Linked DNA regions of Homo sapiens: region 1 is linked to region 2. Evidence: promoter capture Hi-C in 16 types of primary human blood cells and fetal thymus (Javierre and others, 2016). All regions are on one chromosome and are shown on one strand. The core of a region is centred on a gene start or on the middle of the fragment in contact, and the rest is flanking DNA. Distances in the headings are between cores, read along the strand shown. Region 1 overlaps IPCEF1 (interaction protein for cytohesin exchange factors 1). Region 2 holds the start of KPNA5 (karyopherin subunit alpha 5).

What was found. The method cuts DNA at HindIII sites, captures the fragments that hold promoters and counts their contacts. A CHiCAGO score of 5 or more calls a contact.
Region 1: a contact is called between a fragment that was not itself captured here and the fragment with the promoter of KPNA5 in region 2, in 1 of 17 cell types (non-activated CD4 T cells). The highest score is 5.5, in non-activated CD4 T cells.

The regions. Positions count from the first base shown.
Region 1 is chr6:154,247,744-154,253,710 of GRCh38, reverse strand. All of the region lies in intron 3 of IPCEF1 (interaction protein for cytohesin exchange factors 1), which reads left to right. Among named protein-coding and RNA genes, the nearest start is that of IPCEF1, 110 kb to the left of the region's middle. The HindIII fragment of the contact is 1,498 bases long and covers 788-2,285 here.
Region 2 is chr6:116,678,257-116,684,105 of GRCh38, reverse strand. KPNA5 (karyopherin subunit alpha 5) reads right to left here and starts at 2,895. Exons shown (of 14, transcript NM_001366306.2): 1 at 2,768-2,895. The coding sequence starts at 2,771. RefSeq lists enhancers at 1,333-2,314, 2,315-3,298. The HindIII fragment of the contact is 1,991 bases long and covers 1,389-3,379 here.

The sequences.
Region 1 (5,967 bases), core at 287-2,786, about 38 Mb before region 2:
GAAGAAACGTGGGAATATCTAAAAAATTAAAGATGCACATATCCTATGATCATGGAATTCCACTTCCAGACACATAGGTAGCCCAGAAAGACACCTGCATATATGAATAATGGAAGTTATACAAAATTGTTAATTGCAACATTTTTGTGATAGCATAACATTGTAAATAATTTCAATGTGCATCAATAGGTAGAGATACATTGTGGCATTTTTCTTCACTGCAGTACTATGCAGCATTGAAAATGAACTAGAGATACATGTATCAACGTGAAAACATTACAAAAACATAATAGTGAAAATTAAATGTCTGCATTAATGTTATTACTTCTAGTTTTGTTAAAATATTATTTATAGATAGTAAAAGTGCAAAGGAGGTCGGATGTGGTGGCTCGTGCCTGTAATCCCAGCACTTTGGGAGGCTGAGGAAGATAAATCTCTTGGGCCTATGATTTCGAGACCAGCCTGGGAAACAGAGCGAGACCCTGTCTCTACAAGGAGAAAACAACAACAACAACAAAAAAAGCAAGGAAATGATCAACATCACATTCAAGTTAGTGTAATGTGAGGAGAATGAGAGGGAAATGAAAAAGGGAAGGAGTACACAGAGAGATAACAGTATACTTAATTCTCTTAAAAATAATCTCAAAAAGAAAAAAGGCAGAAAGAAATGGATGATCAATGAGTTAGAATATGAATATAATTGAAGCCTTTGATACTGTATTGTTGAAGTGCTTTCTAAGTGTGTATCTGTATCTTACTGCAATAAAAGGGTTTAAGCACAGAAGCTTGGTTTTGAGGGAGGTCTGTGGCAATCTCTGTCCTTTGGCAGTGTGCCTTCCTGTTACTATCATGACGCCTCTTTTCAGTGAAGATTCTTGAAGGAGTAGTCTGCAATGCTGTCTTTATTTCTTCAATTCCCACTCATCTCTCAACCCACTCGGATTGGTCTTGTAGCCCCACACAATAGTTAAACTGGTTTTGCCAAATCTCTAGTGAATCCATCCTTCGTTTTTTCTTTTCTTTTTTTTTGTTTTTCGAGATGGAGTCTTGCTCTGTCACCCCAGCTAGAGTGCAATGGCATGATCTCGGCATACTGCAGCCTCCGTCTCTGGGGTTCAAGCAGTTCTCCTGCCTCAGTCTCCCGAGTAGCTGGGATTACAGGTGCCCACCACCACGCCCAGCTAATTTTTGTATTTTTAGTAGAGACGGAGTTTCACCGTGATGGCCAGGCTGTTCTTGAACTCCTGATCTCGTGATCCGCCCACCCTGGCCTCCCAAAGTGCTGGGATTACAGGTGAGAGCCACCGTGCCTGGCCAAGAGGAGCTCGTCCTTTGTTTTTTCACACTGACAGTACTGGAAGGTTTGGACCTACCTTTCTCTTGTATTCCTCCCTCTGCTCCACGACAACCTTCTCTCCTGCCTCTCTTTACTTTTTCTTTGGCTGTTAATGGCACAGTCCCCTTGCTGGGCTTCTATTGCTTTTCTGGGGCATGTTGGTTTTCCTTTGGATTCTGATGTTGAGCGTTTGTCATTCTATACATTCTCTGGGTGATCTGACCAAAACATGAGACTTCTACTCTTTATACAGTGACAAGTCAACATTTTATGTCTTTATTCCAGATTTTCCTCCCAATATCTAATCCCTTATATACTGCTGTATACCAAGTATTTCCACTTAGATGTCTCACATGTTTATCAGACTCAGTATCTTTACTGCTGAAACAATATGTACATTTCTAACTGTGTTCTCTATGGTGCTAAGTCATTTATTGCAATTGTTTCAGCTAGAAACTCCACGATTTTCCCTGGAACTTTGCTCTTCCCCACTTTCTACATTGTCTTCCTCCTTCTTCCGTCTTCTCTTGCACCCTTCCTGCAGCTCCTTATCTCCTCTCCCTTCCTTCCTCCCCTTCTTCCCAGTCCTCCTTTCATTTCTTCTTTTCCTCTTCTAGGTGGAAAGTGCCGTGGTATCCATCTTCGCCACAATCTCTAGTCCTTGCTTCCCTGCCCTACTTCTTAACAAAACAGCAACAATGCAAACAAATATCCTAACAGTTTACTATGCAGAGTTTTATTCTTGAAATACCTATTTTCACTTTACCATTTACTTTGGTGACTTTGGGCAAAATTCTGAAGCTCCGTTTGCTTTAATTTCCACTTCTGTAAAGTGGATATAATAATAGCACCTGAGCCAGAAAGGTGGCTATGAGAGTTCAATGCTAGTAATCTTGAAAAGACTCAGAGCAGCGCCTGGCACATGCGAGCATGATATGATTATTAAGCTTTATTCATATGTTTTAGCTGTCATTGTGGTTTTTTAAAATAAGAGATGGGATCTTGTTATGTTGTCCAGGCCAGTTTTGAGCTCCTGGGCTCAAGACATCCTCCCACCCCGGCCTCCCAAATCACTGACATAGGCGTGAGTCATCACATCCAACCTCTGTCATTGTTTTTATTACTGCTTCTGTTATTATTGTTAGAATGTCTATTGTCTTTCTTCATTATCCACTACTATGACAGATTATTTCAATTAATGTATTAAGTATTATTTAAGGTGGTTAGTCTTCTGAAAAAATTAAGCAAGCTTTTCATGTTTTCACAGGTAAATGTCTATTAATTGGATGCTTTAGAATCTCCTTTAAAAAGTTGAGTCTATTTTTCTGGGAAGGATAAAAAACGTTTGTGGAGATGTCAGGGGTTTCTGGAAGAACATCCCTAACAGCTCTATCAGTGCTGTGCCGATCTGGTATGGCTCTAAAATAGTCAGGAATTTCTGTGGCTTGGTTGTTAAAATATTGGTAATTTGAAACTGTCAATGATGTGAGGGTTTCTACCACAGAAATTGACAAAAGCCACCAGTTAGGGCTCCTGCAACCAGAGAGCCCATTTTACCAGCATATCACTGTATAGTTTTTGCTAAAGATTAGGATCACTATGAAGTCTGATGTAATGACAGAGCATCTTACTGTGAATTTTAATACATCTTGGGGTAAATTTTGCCTGCAAGGTTTAACAACTACTATATGGATTATAAGTCAATATAACAGTTACCCGTAACCTGGGCGTTAGCCCCAACATTCAATATCAAAGGAGTTTCCTTTGTATATTTTCTACTGGGTCTTTTGTATATTTCCATGTGTTTTTGAGTGATTCGTGGCCAAATGAAGTTTTTGAACCATCTTTTAAAAAGTTAAAGAAAAATACACTTCTTCAATGAAAAAGAAATACATATTTTCAAAGAAAAATTTCCCCTCAACTTTAGAAGTAAGTTAGGGCAAAATCAGATTTTTAGAATAATTTTTTAGTTTTACCTATAACATTCAAACTGGAAGAAAATAGAATGAGAAAATATCTTACTAGGCTCTGAATATTTATGATGATAGCAAGTTATAATTTCCCCTATTGAAAAACCATCTCATAAAATGCTCAACTGGTTGCTTGCTTTTTTTTTTTTTTTACTTACCTAGCGAAAAACCACATGCAAGATCATTTTGAAACGGACTAGTTCACGGGTTCCACTTCCTGTTGTGAGGAGTAAAATCTATCTTAGATGCAATAAAGTTCTCAAAGATTGTTTTCACTGTCTCATATAAACCAATTTAGGTTTCAAATTCATGTATGTTAGGTGAAACTGAAACTCCCTGAATTTGTTATTTCTATAATATGCAGTCTGTTTCTGGTCAGGGAAAACAGTTTTAACAGTTAATAATTTGCTTTAAGAGAATTATTGTCAGAACAGGGTTGACTCAATGACTCAATAACTAAGCTCCCTCCCCCACTTAAAAACAAACAAAAAAAAAGCCTTTCTTTGAGTTGGGTGCCTGTTCTGCTTGAGGTATTGTTCTCATCCCATCCTAGGCATAAGAACGTGGTGTAGACCAAGGGTTGGTCTTGGGCAGAATTGAGACAAAGCTCACATTTTGGGGCTTTCCCTGGAAGTAGCCCTAAGGTGGAGCCGGAGGGCTCCAGTCCCACTGGGTGCTCACAAGGAATGGGTGGAGGATACTCACTGGTACCCAGCTGGGAGCGATGGAAGGAGCATCACTTCCTCTCTGCCTTGGCTGATCCCATCGCTGCCCTCCAGGGACTTTCCTCTCATTTGTTCATCTGAAGGCTGCTCTTCTTGTTTGAACTAATGTAATTTCATCTTGTTCATTGGAGGCCTGAGCACTCTAGGAATGACTGTTAACAACGCCCTTTTCTCCCTATTCCCCTGGTTCTTGGTTTGTCTCAAGTGCTTGCTAGGGACTCCTGGACCCCAGATTTCCCAAATCTTACCCAGCATCTACATTCACGAATTCTCTTCTTTGTCTTTAGTCCTGGCTCTCAGCTAAAATTTAGCCACTCAAATAATATACATATTTGGGCAAAAATATTTTGCCAATAGGTACTAGTTGGGTTTTACTGATCTCAGAGAATTGGCATATCAAAAAAAGGTCCCAGGAGATGATTTGAGGGAATGATAGGAACTTTAGAACACAAGACAGGTCAGTGTGGGAGATATTTGTGAAGTGAGGCTGAGACTAGGTCCTTTTCATGATAACTTGCCTGGATTTTAGTAACATGCCATGATTATAACATGTCTATCTTTGCTTAAAATTTAAGGTAATTACTGCCATCTTTATGGATGATTAATTTTGGGGGGGATAAATTTTACTCTAACATTGGTCAGATGAAATGTCAGTGCAATATTTCTTGGGATCTATATTTCCCAGGAAATATAATTTAAACACTTTAGCTTCGTTGTAATTGCTGAAGGATACATAAATCATACTTATAAAAATTATGATTTTTTTCTGTTTATTAGATATAAAGTATTTGTTTATCTCAACGATATAATATTATATTACACATACTCATATAAAGGGATGTTGTTTAGTTCTCAGAGGATTTTCACAAATAAATCTTGTAAAATCTTTATAAGACCTATAGGATTAGAATTATTATCAATATCTTCATTTTATAAATGAAGAAGCAGATTCAGAGAGTGCTATTTTCTTGGGCACCACAGCTACTAATTATAATAGCCAGGAATTGGTTCCAGGCCTCTGGATTTAAAGACCTTCTCCTCTTTTCACTATGTCATATCCCTTCTTCAAACATACAGTAGAACCATATACAATAGCTATCAGATCAATAGTTAGATATGTAGACTATAAGCCAGGAACCTCTAGAAAACATTATAAAATGCTGTACTAAGATTACATACCAAATTTTGGAACTGCTTTTCATTTTCACACGTTTTTTCCCCTGAGTTCTCTACCTGTTAACGGAAAAGGTTGTCTTTCAAATTTAAATCAGTTCAGCTTAGATATTTGTAAAGAAAAAACAAATAGAACTTCTTTAAGCAAAATTTTTTTTCTCTCTCTCTACACACACACACACACACACACACACACACACGTATTTTAAAGCACTTAAAAATATTTTTTATTTTTGCTGATAGTCTGATTGTATGTTTGTTTAAAATGTATTGTGGAAAAAATGTATATTTCATATATGTTGTCTTATGTCTGATTTGAAGAGCTAGTACAGAATAGTAGGTGGTAACTAATTTATCTTCCATAAAACGTGAGAAATATTCAGAGATATTTAAAGACAGAATAACAAACTTTAATTTGTCTGTAAATAAGAATTTCCTGATAAGGAGGGTTGATTGCTACTGAACTCTCACTGAAAGAGGTTGTGGAATTTCATTTTCTGGGATATTTAATTCATGTGGTTTAGGTCTAACCCTACGTGGTAGCAGGACTATGAGCTGAATAGTCAAGTGACTCTAATATTTTGAGATTGTAACAATTATCTTCCAGGTTTATCTGAATAATCATTGTTATTTAGAAATTGCAAAAGAAGCAGATATATTTTTCCTTCTCTCACAAAAACACAAAAGGGGAAATATTTTTTGATTTTTAAAACTTCCGTGAACACTGTGCTATCATAACTAAAGTAGTAGTGAGAGCGGCTTG
Region 2 (5,849 bases), core at 1,646-4,145:
CCCTGTCTCTACTGAAAATACAAAAATCAGCTGGGCATGCTGGTAGAAGCCTGTAATCCCAGCTACTCTGGAGGCTGAGGCAGGAGAATTGCTTGAACTCGGGAGGCAGAGGTTGCAGTGAGCCAAGATCGCTCCAGCCTGGACTCCAGCCTGGGAGACAGAGCAAGACTCTGTCAAAAAAAAAAAAAAAAAAAAAAAAAAAAAAAAAAGGCCGGGCACGGTGGCTCACGCCTGTAATCCCAGCACTTTGGGAGGCCGAGGCAGGTGGATCACAAGGTCAGGAGATCGAGACCATTTTGGCTAACACAGTGAAACCCCATCTCTATTAAAAATACAAAAAATTAGCCGGGCGTGGTGGTGGGCACCTGTAGTCCCAGCTACTCAGGAGGCTGAGGCAGGAGACCCCGGGAGGGAGACTCCTGGCATGAACCCCGGGAGGCGGAACTTGCAGTGAGCCAAGATCATGCCACTGCACTCCAGCCTGGGCCACAGAGTGAGACTCCATCTCAAAAAAAAATAATAAATAAAAGAGGGAAACCGCTCAACATAACTTTACTAATAACAATGTTTGGTATTATTCTCTATTTTATATCTATAAAAAGCTAGACTCTTGAAAGGAAAAAATTAGAGATCAGAGTTCATTACAGTGCAAACTGACCACAGTATTAGTTGTTGAATTACGCTCAATATATATAAAATATTTAAGTAAAATAAAATGCTCATGGAAATAAAACTCTTAAAGTATTTATCACCTATATATGTAGCATATTCTAGGCCACTGGCTCTAAACGTTTTCAATCACACATCCTACATTCGTAAAATACATTTGTGCATTCATCCTCAATATATTTATTTCTATACATGCATTACTATTCTAATATACTACTCTAGCATAAAATTCACAAAAAACAGAAATTTTTAAGAATGAAAGTTTTAAAAGGTAAACAAATAGAAGTTCTAATATTTTCTTACCACATCTGACTGGATCACCTTGTGCCCCACCACGCACACATACAAAGGCGCTACTTATGAGACCATTAATCCAAGCAACCACATTGTAACTGTTCAGCATAAATTTTAGCCAAATAAAATACAGCACCAACAACTCAGATATCACTTGTTCCTTTTTCTTCAATAGTACTGACTTCCGGCTTCAGATTTAACACTGCATCCATCCTCACTGCAGTTGCTTTAAAGGGGACAATAAACCAAGGGAAATTATCTCTAAAGGGGCCCCATCCAATGGGATTGTTTCGTTCACTGAAAAATAAATTTAAAGGCTGCACTTCAAAGGCTGAGGTCTCATAAAAATTAAATATTTTTATTTAGAAATGTTATTCCAGCACTTTAAAGTTACAGAATAGAGGAATTTTTTTCATTCATAAGCTTTCAACGGCTCTTAGAAAAACCATGTTTAAGTTGGGCAAATAACTGGAATCTGAACTTATGATTTTCTTTAATATCAATCGACATTATTTCTTATGCCAGTAAAGCCTTCATTTCCATGGGGCTGGGCGCCTCATTAGTGAAAGTAAAAGACTGCACAAAGCGGGGGAAGTGCCAACTAGAGAGCCCTCACAACCAAACAAGCAGTACTTAGGTCGGAGGGAGAGAGTTGCTCCTGACCTACCAAGAAAACCACTTTTGTACAGAATATGAGTCATCATTATTGGGTGTTGTAATTGAGAGATAAATCATTAGTGTTTTTGTCTTTTTTAAAAAACATGTCTAAAAAGCTCAAAAGTAAATGCCAGTGTCATATTCTTTTGTTTGTTTTTTGAGACAGAGTCTCGCTCTGTCGCCCGGGCTGGAGTGCAATGGCGCTCTCGGCTCACTGCAAGCTCCGCCGCCCGGGTTCACACCGTTCTCCTGCTTCAGCCTCCCGAGTCGCTGGGACTACAGGCGCCCACCACCATGCCAGGCTAATTTTTCCTTTTTTTGTATTTTTGGTATTTTTTTTGTATTTATTATTTTGTATTTTATTTTGTATTTTTTGTATTTTTGGTAGAGACGAGGTTTCACCGTGTTAGCCAGGATGGTCTCGATCTCCTGACCTCGTGATCCGCCCGCCTCCGCCTCCCAAAGTGCTGGGATTACAGGCGTGAGCCACCGCGCCCGCCGCCAATGTCATATTCTTTAGACATATCACTGTCATTTCACAGCTTTCAAATACTTCCATCTCCTATGTATTATCGATGAAAACCTAAGTTTTCATCTTAGAACGGAGCTGCCCGACTATTAGAAGCGTGGAACCCAGGCTTGCCTTGTCGTCGGGAATGAGCACTAGAGGCACCTGCACGCAGGTGGAGGAGGGAGGCTGGCGGATGGAGAGGGCGAGGCTAGGAGGCCCTCGGGATGGAACCTGTCTCTTCTTTGGACACTGTGGAATTTCCATAAGCTGCTGGACACAGCTGATGGGTACCAGGTATGAGTGGCAACGTTTGGCAATTCCATTAACTGAAAAGAACTACCGAGAAACGGTGAGGCGGGGCGGCGAAGATGAGACCAGCTGCCCATCACTCCAGAGGACCTGCTGAAAGAATCTGAACTCACCACGCCTTCGCGTCCGCAAGGGAAAGGTCCGGCTGCCACGCCCCCGCGACCGCTGTCGCCCTGGGGAAAACACGAGAAACACCCGGCACCGCCAGGTTCCAGAGACCTTCGCAAAGTAAGGGGTAAATAAAAACCGTGGCCCCAGGAACTAGTAGTTCCCAAAGGGACCAAAACCGAGGCTCCCCCAACCTAGCCCGTGTTCACTCCAACTTACCCATTAATGTGGCACTCTCCGATGCCCTGATTTCCCAGTCCCCAGCGGCGACGTGTGTGGCGGGTAACAGAAGGGCCGCCACTCCGCCCCTGGCGTGAAGCGTAGCGACCCAGTTCGCAATCCAAGATGGCGGCCACCTGCGCCCCTTCTCCGAGACCCCGAGGCTCGGCTCCCAGAAGCCCTTGCACTCGACGCGGCGGCGGCGGCGGCGGCGGCGGCGGCGGCGGAGGAGGAGTGGTGGCCGCACATCCTAGCAGTGGGGCGTAGAGAAAGTGCGCGCCGCCGTCCCACCCACCGAAGGAGGAGCCTGTGCCTGCGACAAGCCCTGGATTTTAGTTGCGCTTGCGGTGGCCATGCTGTAGGTACTCTGCGGCCCGTAGACCTCCGTGTGTGCAAAGGGACGACCCCTCATTCATTCATTCTTCACGCGTGCGTGCATGCATACATTCTTAAGGATATAAACTGTGTCAAGTACCATTTTAGATACATTATTGGGGCTACAACAGTGCAAAAAAGTTGGTAAAAATCGCAGCCTTGTTAAGTGTACGGAGAAGCTCACGTTTTCTTCAGCTTCATTAACTTTTATATGCTCTGCTCGTTTTATTTCAAGCTTTTTGTCATTTATAATTTTATATTCTATAACATCTGCGGTTTTTTGTTTTTGTTTTTCTGTTTTTGGGGGGTTTTTTTTGAGACGGAGTCTGGCGCTGTCACCAGGCTGGAGTGCAGTGATGCGATCTCGGCTCACTGCAACCTCCGCCTCCCAGGTTCAAGCGATTCTCCTGCCTCAGCCTCCCAAGTAGCTGGGACTACAGGCATGCGCCACCACGCCCAGCTAATTTTTGTATTTTTAGTAGAGACCAGGTTTCACCGTGTTGGCCAGGATGGTCTTGATCTCTTGACCTCCTGATCCGCCCGCCTCAGCCTCCCAAAGTGTTGGGATTACAGGCATGAGCCACCACACCCAGCCACATGAGTGTATTTTTGACAGCAATGTAGTCACCAATAAACGAGTAACTTCAGTTAAAGTACTGTAGATTATAATACACAGCCCTGTAATCTACCCTGGAGTTCAACAAACGGTATTGAAAACAGACTGTGTTCCAGATGCAATAGGAAGAGAATAAATAAGATAAACAATACATAAATCCTGCCCAGAAGACGTTTGCAATTTTTTAAGAGGAAAAACATGAAGACAAATTGTTTTAAGATGTTTGCTATTTTCAATAGTTGAAAAATAAACAGGAGAGAAGGGATTATTTAACTGTGGGTATGTAGGGCTGAGAAAGGCACGCTTGACAAAGGAAACCTGGGCAGTGTTACCAGAAAGCGTTGCCAATCATGAGTCCATATAGTGAAGTGAAAGCAAGTTTATTAAAGAAGTAAAGAAACAAAAGAATGGCTACTCCATAGGCAGAGCAGTGGCTTGGGCTGCTGGACTGAGTATATAGTTTTTTTGTGTGTTGTTTGTTTGTTTTGACACGGAGTCTTGCTCTGTCGCCCAGGCTGGAGTGCAGTGGCGCCATCTCGGCTCACTGCAAGCTCCGCCTCCCGGGTTCACGCCATTCTCCTGCCTCAGCCTCCCGAGTAGCTGGAAATTTATTGTATTTTTAGTAGAGACAGGGTTTCACCGTGTTAGCCAGGATGGTCTCAATCTACTGACCTGGTGATCCTCCTGGCTCGGCCTCCCAAAGTGCTGGGATTACAGGCGTGAGCCACCGCGCCCAGCCAGTTATTTCTTAATTATATGTTAAACAAGGGGTGGATTATTCATGAGTTTTCAAGGAAGGGGGCAGGCAATTTTTGGAACTTAGGGTTCTACCCTCTTTTAGACTGTATGACTTCTGGATGTTGCCATGGCATTTGTAAACTGTCATGGTGCTGGTGGGAGTGTCTTTTAGCATGCTAATGCATTATAATTCACGTATAATGAGAAGTGAGGATGACCAGAGGTCACTTTTGTCTTCATCTTGGTTTTGGTGGGTTTGGCCTGTCTTCTTTACGACATCCTGTTTATCAGCAGGGTCTTTGTGACCTGTATCTTGCGTGGACCTCCAATCTTCTGTGACTAAGAATGCCTAACCTCCTGGGAATGCAGCTCAGTAGGTCTCAGCCTCGTTTTACCCAGCACCTGTTCAAGTTGGAGTCACTCTGGTTCAAACGCCTCTGACAACAGGACTATTGGAGTACTGATAGGAGTTTATTTGCCTTAATCACCTGGCCACCCTATCCCTTTCTTATTTCCTCCCTACTCCTCCGTCCTGGGAGACTGAATTCAAATAGACAATGGCCAGAGAATATATACAAATAGAACACTAACCTACAACCTTCAACAACCAGTCCAGGAAGGCAACCTACTATGTCCAGTAACCAGTCCAAGAAATCAGATTACTATATTTAGCAACCAGTCCAGGAAGCCAAGCAATAACCCTTGTAGCAATCTACCCCAAATGGCCAGGACGTGATTAATAACTTACAGCTTCTGTAAGTTTTGTCAGGGCTTCCAACTCAAGGCCAGCTAGAGAGAGCCAAATATCTACCCACCCCTAAATAATTACATAGGATGCCCTGCTTTTAGTTAGCCCACCTGCAGCTTCTCCATGCCAACAGCCTTGAATTGGCATACCTGAAGCTTTCCCTTTTTTCCACTCTAAAGCTTTCTCACTCCTCTGCCTGCCGTTGAGTCTCTGACAAATGCAAGTGATGATGGCTGACTCCCTTGCTATTGTAAGCTCCAAATAAATTTGGCTTTGCTTGTTCTCATTTAGATGGTCTGCACTTGTTTCTATACTCCTGAAGAAGATTCCTGCTATCTGGACATGCCTTCCCTCTGGATAGATATGGCAGAAGAGATGATAATGGTGTCTTTTAGACCTCTGCTCAGCAGGGTCTAGGTCCCGGCTTTTCATATCCAGGAAAGAACTGGAGGAATAGGATTGGTATCAAGATGCTGACTTCATTAGTTGTATGCAATGCCAACCACAGCAACTTCCTACCAAGACCTGACCTTCTATGGCATCTTTCCCAATCTGCCTGTCAAAATAAAATCCACTTCTCAGTGGTCCTTTTATCCCAAAAGCTG